4 separate regions of the Homo sapiens genome follow, and regions 1, 3 and 4 are each linked to region 2. Evidence: promoter capture Hi-C in human tissues and cell types (Jung and others, 2019). All regions are on one chromosome and are shown on one strand. The core of a region is centred on a gene start or on the middle of the fragment in contact, and the rest is flanking DNA. Distances in the headings are between cores, read along the strand shown.

Region 1 (2,700 bases), core at 35-2,534, 760 kb after region 2:
AGTTAATAGCAGCCGATGTGATGGCTCACACCTGTAATCCTAGCATGTTGAGAGGCCAAGGTGGAGGATTGCTTGAGGCCAGGAGTTTGAGAGCAATCTGACAAACATAGTGAAACCCTGCCTATATTTCTTTTCTTTTTTTTTGAGACCGAGTCTTGCTCTCTCACCCAGGCAGGCATGAGCCACCACGCCTGGTTTATTTCTTTTTTTCTTTTTTTCTTTTTTTCTTTTTTTTTTTTTTTTGAGACTGAGTCTCACCCTATCGCCCAGGCTGGAGTGCAATGGTGCGATCTCAGCTCACTGCAACCTCCATCTCCCGGGTTCAAGCAATTCTCCTGCCTCAGCCTCCCGAGTAGCTGGGATTACAGGCATGTCCCATCATGCCCAGCTAACCTGGCTTATTTCTATATATTATTTTTTTCTAAGAATAAACAAATGAACAAAAACAGTTAATATCATTGGAATAACATGCAGGTCCTAAAATAAGAAGTATGTAAGATGTGTTTATTGAAATATATATATGGTATACTGGAAAAAAAACCCCACAAAATATTACACAAATACTGGTTACAGCTTACAGTAGCCAGCCTCCAAGATGCCCCCCAGTGATGCTCACCTCCTAATATTCATGCCTTTGTGTAGTCCCCTTTTACAGTTCGTCAGGGTTGGTCTGTATGAGCATTAGAATATAGGGATATGATAGTGTATGACTTCCAAAACAAAGTCATAAAAGACATTACTGCTTCTGCCCTGCTCTTCTTGGATTGACTGCTCTGGAGGAAGCCAGCCACTGGGTTATAAAGACATTCAAGCAGCCCTATGGAGGATCTACACGGGGAGCTACTGAGACTTCCTGCCCACAGCTGGCATCAACTTGCCAACCATTGAGTGAGCCATCTTGGAGGTGGGTCTTCCAGGCCTAGTCAAGCCTTCAGATTGACTGCAGCCCCAGCCTACATCTTGACTGCAATCTCATGAGAGCCTCAGAGCCAAAACTGTCTAATTAAACCACTCTCAGAGTCCCAAACCACAGAAATAATGAGATAGGCCGGGCGCAATGGCTCACACCTGTAATCTCAGCACTTTGGGAGGCCAACGCAGGTGGATCACCTGAGGTCAGGAGTTTGAGCCTGGCCAATATGGCGAAACCCCGTCTCTACTAGAAATACAAAAATTAGCCGGGTGTGGTGGGGGGTGCCTGTAGTCCCAGCTACTTCGGAGGCTGTGACAGGAGAATCACTTGAACCCAGGAGGCAGAGGTTGCAGTGAGCCAAGATCACGCCACTGCACTGCAACCTGGGCAATAGAGGGAGACTCTGTCTCAAAAAAATAAAAAAGGGATGAGATAATAAATATTTTTATTGCTTAATACATGTATTTATTTACTTAATTAATTTATTTTTTGAGACAGGGTCTTGCTCTGTCACCCATGCTGGAGTGCAGTGGCATGATTCTAGCTCACTGCAGCTTCGAACTCCTGGGCTTAAGTGATCCTTCTGCCTCAGCCTCCCAAGTAGCTGGGACTGCAAGTGTGCACTGCCATGCCTGGCTAATTTTTTCATTAAAAAAAAATTTTTTTTAATAGGGTTTTGCTGTGTTGCCCAGGCTGGTCTCAAACTCCTGGGCTCCAGTGATCCTCCTGCCTTAGCCTCCCAAGTGTTGGGATTTACAGGCATGAGGCACCATGCCCAGCCAATTTTTTTTTTCTTTTTTTCTTTTTCTTTTTTTTTGATTCTTCAGCTAAGACAGCAGAAGAGATGATTTATCGTATGGTTGTTATACTCGGCCACAAGTAAACACAGAAATAGTCCAGAATGTCCCAGGTCCAGGGCAGAGGACCAACATGGGCAGTTTTGGTTATGAGCAAGGTGGGTCTCAGAGGTGATCAGCGATCAGAGGGCGGTGAAGTTCTGGATCCATTGAGACAAGCTCTACACAATAGCATGCAGTCCCACAACTTGTACCAGCATCCCCAGCATCTGGCATTCCATGTTTCTGCTCCTGTGTGGCCTCCACGGTGCAACAAGCTAGCGGTTTACTTGGACCTCTGCCTCATCTTTCTTCTTTTGTGCTTCAGACTGCACATTCGCTTTTTCCTCCACTTAGCTCTCATGATGCAGAGGTTTCCAAGAAAATGGCGCTAAGGCTGAGAGAAACCCTAGCCCATTTCTATTGTCAGTTTTTATTGAATTCCACCTTGGACGCTCTTCTAGGTTCTTGGGTTACACCAGTAAACAAAAAGATTTCTGCTCTTGAGGAGCTTATATTCTATCAGAGGAACACAGACAATAAATATCAGTAAGCTTTCCAGTATGTTAGAATGTGATAAGTGGTGTGGAAAAAAGAAAAGTGGATCAGAGTAAGGGGAGTTGAGAAAGCAGGTAGAGGTGGGAGCATGTGAAGGTGAGAGGTTATAGTATTAAGTAGATCTCAATAAGAAAGTGATTTTTAAACAAGTATTTGAAGGAGTTGCAGGAATTCATCAAGTGGATATATAGGAAAAGAATTTCTAGGCAGTGGGGACAGCTTAGAGCGAAGGCCCTAAGGCAGGGGCATGAGTGAATAAGCGCAGAGGTCAGTGTTGGGGGAGAGTAAGGTGAAAACTATTAGTAGATGGGGTCAGAGATGTAGTGGGGATGGAAGCAGAAGGCTATTTTCAGGACCTTGTTTCTCTGAAATGGGGAGCCAGTGCTGGATTTT
Region 2 (2,700 bases), core at 82-2,581:
AAGAGGATGGTCAAAGAAACCAAGGAATGTATCTGAGAGGTAACTTTTGAGCCACCCCACCACTGTATGTAATCCATACACATCTACAAACGCTGTTTTTTTGGTAATTCACATCTAGCTAATTAAAAAGCTGAGCTGTCAGCCCTCTGACTCTTACGGAATCCTTTGGAGTGTTAGCTAGTCATTGTGTGTTGGAATTAGACTAACCACTGGTTAAAGCCCTGAGGCCTGCTCATTCAGGGCCCTCTAGGTGAAAGATGAGGTTCAGGCAGATGCTTTCTTACCTGTGGAGTCATCGTAGAGGGATCTGGCTCAGGGGCGGCTTGCTGCTGTTCAGTACTCTTGTTTTTGGCCCCACTCTCCAAAGGCTCTTGCTGGACAGTTGTCTTATTTCCAGGGGGGGCGGACGGTGGTGGTGGAGCTAGTAGTTGGGATTTAGAATGGCCCTGGGAGGGGCGGGAAGGAGATGCCTGAGAAGAGGGCAAGTAGGACTGGGAATGGCTCAAATAGGATTGCGAGGAAGAGGAGGAGGATGAGTAAGAAGGGGTGGGCGCCAGGTAGGATTGGGAAGGTGGGGACTGCGAAGGGGACGGCTGAGCAGGAGGCAGGTAGGGCTGAGATGAGGTCGGGGGGTAGTAAGAGGGTGGCGGCTGAGGTGGGGGCATGTAAGACTGAGATGGGGGCATATAGGACCCAGGCGGCACAGGGGGAGATTCAGGGGGGGATTCCAGCTCCATTGGAACCAAACCAGGAGGCCCGTCTCGTTGGTGGTGGAGCATCTGGTGTTTGTACTGCTGCTGCTTCTGATAGCTGAGGGCCGGCCCGGGTGGCGGGGGCATCGGTGGCGGTGGCGGCTGCCAGTCTCCGTAGCCGCCCCCCGGCATCACTGGCGGGGGCGGCAGAGGGGGCGGAGGAAGGTGGTGGGGCTGAAGCACGCACTGCATTTGCTTCTGGTGCATCTGCTGCAGCTGCTGGAGCTGCGCCAAGTGCTGTTCGCGGAAGCTCATGAAGCCCGAGGAGGAGGGGGCCGCGGGAGTCGTCGAGCTCGAGTACCCGGGCCCCGGCGAGGCCTCAGGAAGCGCCACTGGCGGCGGCGGTGGGACCGGTGGCGGCGGATAGTGGCTGCTCCCGCCATACCGGCCCCAATTCGGGTACATATCGAAAAAGAAGGCGCAGGGCTCGTCCTGGCGCCGTTACTCGTCGCAACCGACCTCCAGGAGCCGCGGCGGCGACGGCGACAGCCGGAACTCGCGGCGCCTACAGGCCCCGGAGCGTGTAAACGGAGCGCGCCAGTGCGCCGGCGCTCCCGAGCTGGGCCCGCGACCGGGAAGGCGGGGACGCGACTTGGGCGACTACGTCTGCGCAGTAACCACCGAGAGGAGAACAAAGGCGAGATAGAGCGGTCCTTTACTTGGCGACTCGTGGTTGCCATCTTCCTTTGGGTTCAGATAATGTAGGCTCCAGTAGAATGTTCTCATAGAACTGAAAAACCATAGAGTCTCACAGCCGAAAGAGGTGGTAGAGATCCTATCGCTCCACGGGTTCATTTTTGAATGAAAAAAAAAAAAGGTTCCATTCACAATAGCAACAATCGCAACAACAACAAAAAAACATAAAGCAACTAGGAAAAACTCTAACAAGAAAGATGTAGGACTTATATGTAGAAAGCTACAGAGTCATAAAGAAGCATATCCAAGTAGGATGAAATTAGACTTCAAATAATGGAGAGGCTTACCATGATCCTGGGTGAAAAGAGGAAAAATTGTAAAGATGTCAGTTTCTCCCAAATTAAATGAATAGACCTAACTCAATTCTCCCCAGAAATTCAACTGGGAACAAAGCTGTGAAGAATGGAAAGGTGTTTTCAAGGCAGAGTGTAAGATTACACCAATTCCTGCAGACATATAGTGAGTAACATCTGCAGGAATTGTAGAAGGGGAGAAATGGAATTTTTTAGACTGTCTCAACACATATAAATCGGTGTTGCAGAATCTCAGAGCAAAAGCAAAGAGAGCAAAAACCAGATACAAAGATGGTCTAAAGACAACCTGGAAGATAATCTTCCAAAAGCTCTCAACGTAATACCAGACATAAACTCTTACTTTAGCTTGAGTGAATCACTAAAAAGCAAAGCTAATACACTGAATTCTTTTGGGTGTGTGGGGGGGGGCGGGGGGAGGGAGAACTGTGAGAATATTGTGTCAGTGCATCACTTGAGTAACATGCAAATAATTGACCTTTCTTCCATCTTAGCAACCCAGATCTTCACCTCTCTCAGGAGGTGAATGTGAATGGAAAGTGGAGCAGCAAGGCATCCTTCAAAAGGAAGAGCTTCTGTTTTCAAATAGAAATTTAGTTATGTTTCTTTTAACTTTTTATTGAAGTATAACGAATATACAGAAAATTACATGTCAAAAGACAAAATTACAACAAATTTAGTTTAAAGATCTTAATTAACTTTTACCTGCTATTCTAGAATTGGGCAACGTCTCATTCTATAAAGCAGAAACAGTGTTCCAATGAGCAGAACAATCGGGATAATTTCATAGACAGAAAAGAAACGCAGAGGCAGGGCGCGGGGGCTCACTCCTGTAATCCCAACACTTTTGGGAGGCTGAGGCAGGCAGATCACCAGGTCAGGAGATCAAGACCAGCCTGGTCAACATGGTGAAACCCCATGCCTACTAAAAATACAAAAAG
Region 3 (2,700 bases), core at 127-2,626, 670 kb before region 2:
TCGTCTTGCCAGGACTGTGGCTTCTTTCACCAATGTTCCCCTGAATCCCTTTCCCACCCAGCTGCTCTTCCTGCCGTAAAGTCCTTCCTGTTATAGAGGAAAAGTTGCTCAATTAACTCACACCAAGGTCACCCTTGGCACTGCCAGAAGTGTCTGCCTTTTTTATTTTGAAGGCAATGCTTGACCCAATCATAGGCAACATGTATTCAGCCTTTGGTATGTGCCAGGCCCCATGGTAATCCTGCAGTCCCATTAGGCTGGATCAGAGGTCATTACACAGAGGAAGTAGCCAAGCTTAGAATGATAATTCGCTTAAGGTTGTACACAGTTAAAATTGGTGGAGCTGGGATTTCAATGGCAGCATACAGTCTCTGAAGAGAGCGAATTATAACGGCAGAACCTCAAGCACCTTCACACCTGTTTCAGAGGAAGCTATTTTTGGTCTGGCATGGTGCCTCCCCTCCAATCACACATCCTATTCTGCATATTTGTTAAGACACCCTGAGTAGGAGATGAAGCAAATCTAAGTTAAAGGTGAGTGTGTGTGCTATCTATGAGGAAGGGACTGAGGCAAAGCAGGTGGAATTAATTAGCATGTGCTTTCCCTGTGGAACCCAGTACCAGAAAACTCCTCCATGCTTTTTTTTTTTTTTTTTTTTGCCCAGGCTGGAGTGCAGTGGCACGATCTCAGCTCACTGCAACCTCCGCCTCCTGGGTTCAAGCAATTCTCCTGTCTCAGCCTCACGAGTAGCTGGAATTACAGGCACCTGCCACCACGCCCAGCTAATTTTTGTATTTTTAGTAGATACAGGAGTTCATCATGTTAGCCAGGCTGGTGTTGAACTCCTGGCTTCAAATGATCTGCCCACCTTGGCCTCCCAAAGTGCTGGGATTATAGGCGTGAGCCACTGCGCCCGGCTACCTCCATGTTCTCTTCATTCTCAGAGCAAACACATATTCCAGCTCTGCCCAACCAAAAAGGTGTACAAGGGAAGACAGATTCAGACATGGAAGAAGGATGTAAATTAGACAGGTCAACACCAAGGGAATTCTTCCTTCCCTTTACTGGGGGAAGCTCATGGGTAAGAAATGGTCATTTCAAGGCACAGATGGCAGTGAAGAAAGCTGGTCTGCCAATAAAGCCAGTCCCTTAAAGGGCTCCTCCTACCTACCCATCCATCCAGTTACTGACCACCTACTATAGGCCAGCAGGCACTAGGAATATGGAGGTCAGATGTGCAGTCTTAGCTTTGAAGCAGCCTTTTAAGTAGCATGTTAGTACAAAACTGCTCTTAGATTCTAGTCCTGGAAAGGAAATCATTTCTCCCTCTTTTCACCTTTCTGCCCAGGGCCATAAAATCAAAATATTCGCTGGCTTAGCACTCCTGAGGGAAAATCTTTGGCCTATCCTTCCATCTTTACCTGTCTCTTCCCATGGAGAGAGATGTATTTGGCAGAAGAGGGAAGATCTGATGTCCATCGGACAATACTTCTCCGTTGGGCAGTTAATGTACTCAGATGGCCACATGGTTCTTGGGCTCTCTGTCTCCTGCAGGAGTGGCCTTGGAGGGTGACCCACAACCACCTGCCCCCATTCAGCTTCCCAGGTCTAGATCATTCCAGAGAGGGGCATTTGTGAACCTGTTTTGGCCAAGAGTGCAAGCCATATTCTCCATCTACATTTCACTTTTGAAGGTGAAATTTGGTTCCCTGTCCAAGTCCAGAGTCTATTTCCCAATAAGTTCTATTTCTCTAAGAGAAAAAGCATGTGAGTAACTTGCACCCTCAAGCACAAAGGTTTCCACTGGCCATCACTTTGTCTAAAGCAAGGTGTCTAAAGCGAGGTGCCTGGGAATGGGAAGTGGACCCGCCATTTCATCCTCAGCATGCCTGCTGCATCTGTCATAAAGCCTCTGCCCATAGCTCCCTGGCTTGCCCCAGAGTTTTTATTTGGTGTCCTCAGGCTCCTCTAACTGTGCTCTACCTACTGTGCCTCCCATACCCGGTCCTCTTAGCACTCCTTCCCACTCACATCCTTTCTCTCCTTCCTTCACCCCGTGTCCCCTGGGCCATCAGAAAAAGATCTGAGGCTCAATCACATTGAGTTACAGTTTTAGAGCTGAAGGAGGCCCTGTGCTCATCTAAACCACATCCTCATTTTGACAGGAGGAAACTAAAGCTCAGAGAGGCTAAATGGCCTCCCCAAGGTCACACAGCTGGAGAGGATTGGAGCCAGGGCTCGACTCCTGGTCCCAGGGTTCTAGACCAAAGCTTTCTCACCCTTCCTTCTTTGTTTCCCTTTCTGGGGTCCAATAGGTAACGACGCCTTCAGCAGAAGGAATGACTTTCTCACGGTGGGCTTTCAGACACCAGCCCACAGTAGAGGGTCATTGTCTTGCACAGAGGACCCTCCACCCCCCATGGAGATCCAGGTTTAGGAAGTTCCCTGAATAACTCCACGGTAGCCTGCATGGGAGCCCAGACACAGAAATAGCCCCTGAGACCTCTCGCATGTGGGTGTTCAATGTTCTCTGATCCCCCAAACTCTGAGCTGGACTGGAGCCTAGTGGCAGTAAGAGAGCTCCCTCTCAGCCCTCTGGAATGGAACCTGCAATGCAGAGAGGGCTGCAGCCTGCCACGCTAGGAGGCCGCTCCAGGGCCCTGTAGATGAGCTGCACGTCTCCCCTGGCCTCCTCTAAG
Region 4 (2,700 bases), core at 72-2,571, 880 kb after region 2:
TCAGCTGCAAATTCTAGGTCTTTAAATCTCTCTCATTCTCCATTTTTAAATAATTCCCGTGATTCTCTGTTCCCAGAATGTTCTCTGTTCCCTACTGTAATGCCCTGTTTAGGTCTCTCAGTAACTTTCTACTATACTATTAAAACAGGCCTCTAACTGGTCACCCCGCGTTTAAAATTCCTCTTTCCAATACATCCTTTATGCAGCCATTCAAGTTATCTTTCCAAAACAAAGAAATGCTTATGTCACTTCTACTCAAAGTTCAGTGCCTCGGAAAAATTGTCATAGCCCTAAAGGTAAACCCCTTCGTTTACAGAAAAACTCCCCAGAGCTAGAGATTCAGCAACTTGCCAAAAATTAGACATCTACTTAGATGCAAAACGTAAAAAACTAGAACTTAAAACTTCTGACTGCTACTTTAGTTGTCTTTTACTCTGCACCACACTAAGAAAAAACCAAGTGCAATTTCTCACTCCCTAACAAAATGCCCGACTTTATTTCCAAATGTTTTTTATTTATTGCAAATATGCTGCGTTGACCTTCGTTCCAACCTAAGTACTAATTCTTAAGTCCCAAGTTAATAATATTTAACTTCCAAATGGTGCCTAAATGCATTTCTGAGCCTCATGATCAAGTGGGATAAACTTTAATAAATTGGATTATCTTGAGAAACTTCAGAAAATAAATTCGACACGAAATGTATGAAGGCCGTAAACAATCCACACACTCCTGCCCCCCGAACTGACAGGCAAAGGAGAAACGGGCGACCCAGCCCAGCCGAGTAGGCAGCTGTCCCTTTTCCAAACCCAGAAAGTAAGTGGTATGAAAGGAGAGGGTAGCTCTGGACTGAAACATTCAGGGCAAGGCCTCCTGGCATCCTCTACCCCACACCACAAAGGCCTCAGAAATAAGGCCCCAAGGTCCGTAGGCAGGCCCCGGCTGCGGGTGCAGTCCAAGAGCCCCCGCCCCGGGGACTCGCTGACTCTGGCTTTCTCAGGACAGTCTGTTCCTATATCCCTACCCCCAAAACCAAGCAAAGGAGCAAGAACATCGCCCCTAAAAACCCGCGAGGGGAAGGGCCAAAGCCGCAGGGCTTCAGACTGGCCGCTCCCGGGCCCGCCAGATCCAGGAGGGATGCCCAAGGAGGGCGGTTTCCTCTCTCGGGGCGAACTCGGCCCCAGGCCCCAAGTAGCCGGTACTGGCCCCCGCCCTCTCGGGTACTACCTAACCGAGGAGGGGTGGCCAGGCCCACCTCGGAGCTCACCTTCCAGTTCCGGGAAGCCGGCCGGCCGTCAGTCGGTCCCGAATTCCGTCCACACACAGCGTCTTCCGGCTCCCGCCGGAAGCAGCTCGAGCGCGGGACAGGAAGTTTGGCTGACCCCCCACGCACACACCCACTCGCTCGCCTCAGTGTCGTGTGGCTGCCGCACTGCTCGGGACCCAGACGTCAAGGGTGCTGGCGGGGCCTCCCCAGGCCCGCGACGCAGGGCTCCGCCCCGGACAGGAGGAGCCGCAGCCGCCCCGCTCCCACTCACTCACTCACTCTCGGCCTTCGGGACTCCTATGTCCGCGAAGCCCGAAAAAACAGGTCAGCTAATTCGTTGACGTCACTGCCACCCCGCAGTAGCGGAGGGAGTAGTTTTTCCCATCAGCGGAGGCGTTGCAATGGAGGCAAACGCGAAAGAAAAGATCACTGCTTAAACATTTATCAAAGGTCTCCATGGAGAGGACCTTCGAAGTTTCACCGCCCGAGAAAGGAACTTGCAGAATCAAGTTTTGCATTATATACGGGACGGGGTATGCAGTGAGTCTGGGTTCCGTGTTGTAATTAGGATGTAAAGAGCTCTTGGATGTCCCGACTGCGGGCTTGAACACTTGACTTCCAAGCTGGATGCCACCTTGTTAAAGCTTTGTGAGTTTGACTGACTTCTTGAAATTACTTATTTTAAAATATTTGCGTGCGGAAGAATGAGAGACTCAACCGTGGGAATTAAAGGAGTTCTCTTTAAAAAGGCATTTTCAAGGTTAAAGATAAGCCTTGATGACAGGTTTGGGTACACAAATTACTAATGGTGATTTAAAATAAAGGAGAAACATTTCAGAGGAAGATAATTCCACTTTAGAAAAGCAGAGTAGGCCGGACTCCGTGGCTCACGCCTTTAATCCCAGCACTTTGGGAGGCTAAGGTGGGCGGATCACGAGGTCAGGAGATCGAGACCATCCTGGGTAACGCCGTGAAAACCCGTCTCTACTAAAAACACAAAAATTAGCCGGGCGTGGTGGCACGCGCCTGTAATCCTAGCTACTCGGGAGGCTGAGGCAGGAGAATCGCTTGAACCCGGGAGGCGGAGGTTGCAGTGAGCCGAGATCGTGCCGCTGCACGCCGGGCGACTGAGCAAGACTCCATCTCAAAAAAGAAAAGAAAAGAAAAAAGCAGAGTATAAGATGCAATCCAGAGTTGAGGATATTTACTTGGAGGTAAAGGTCCAGTGCTCAAGAAAGAGGTCAGAAATACAGATGGAGATTTGGGAGTTAGCAACATACAGAGAAAAGTGAAACCCCCTCAGGCGATGAAATGGTCCAGGAAAAGTAACAAAAAAGGGCCACTCACGAAAACTGGGGAGGCTGATTACCAACACAGTTTGAATCTACTTATTACAAATGTTGCATACAAAAGTATATTGGCAGTGTGTAGACAAT

What was found. Contacts are between HindIII fragments. The study calls those that stand out against the background at their distance.
Region 1: a fragment that was not itself captured here is called in contact with the fragment with the promoter of YLPM1 in region 2 in 1 of the 25 tissues and cell types used here (spleen).
Region 3: a fragment that was not itself captured here is called in contact with the fragment with the promoter of YLPM1 in region 2 in 1 of the 25 tissues and cell types used here (lymphoblastoid cells).
Region 4: the fragment with the promoter of ZNF410 here is called in contact with the fragment with the promoter of YLPM1 in region 2 in 2 of the 25 tissues and cell types used here (bladder and mesenchymal stem cells).

What each region holds. Positions count from the first base shown.
Region 1 is chr14:74,002,809-74,005,508 of GRCh38, reverse strand. All of the region lies in intron 3 of ENTPD5 (ectonucleoside triphosphate diphosphohydrolase 5 (inactive)), which reads left to right. It also overlaps the pseudogene RPL41P4. Among named protein-coding and RNA genes, the nearest start is that of ENTPD5, 15 kb to the left of the region's middle. The HindIII fragment of the contact is 8,142 bases long and covers 1-2,700 here.
Region 2 is chr14:74,761,947-74,764,646 of GRCh38, reverse strand. YLPM1 (YLP motif containing 1) reads right to left here and starts at 1,331. Exons shown (of 21, transcript NM_019589.3): 1 at 285-1,331. The coding sequence starts at 1,157. RefSeq lists an enhancer at 1,284-1,623. The HindIII fragment of the contact is 19,465 bases long and covers 1-2,700 here.
Region 3 is chr14:75,435,132-75,437,831 of GRCh38, reverse strand. The region is part of intron 1 of JDP2 (Jun dimerization protein 2); the gene reads right to left. Among named protein-coding and RNA genes, the nearest start is that of JDP2, 8.5 kb to the right of the region's middle. RefSeq lists an enhancer at 1-389. The HindIII fragment of the contact is 5,565 bases long and covers 1-2,700 here.
Region 4 is chr14:73,885,480-73,888,179 of GRCh38, reverse strand. ZNF410 (zinc finger protein 410) reads right to left here and starts at 1,321. Exons shown (of 12, transcript NM_021188.3): 1 at 1,265-1,321. It overlaps PTGR2 (prostaglandin reductase 2), which reads right to left. Exons shown (of 10, transcript NM_001146154.2): 10 at 2,454-2,700. RefSeq lists an enhancer at 1,262-1,331 and a silencer at 1,382-1,661. The HindIII fragment of the contact is 8,605 bases long and covers 1-2,700 here.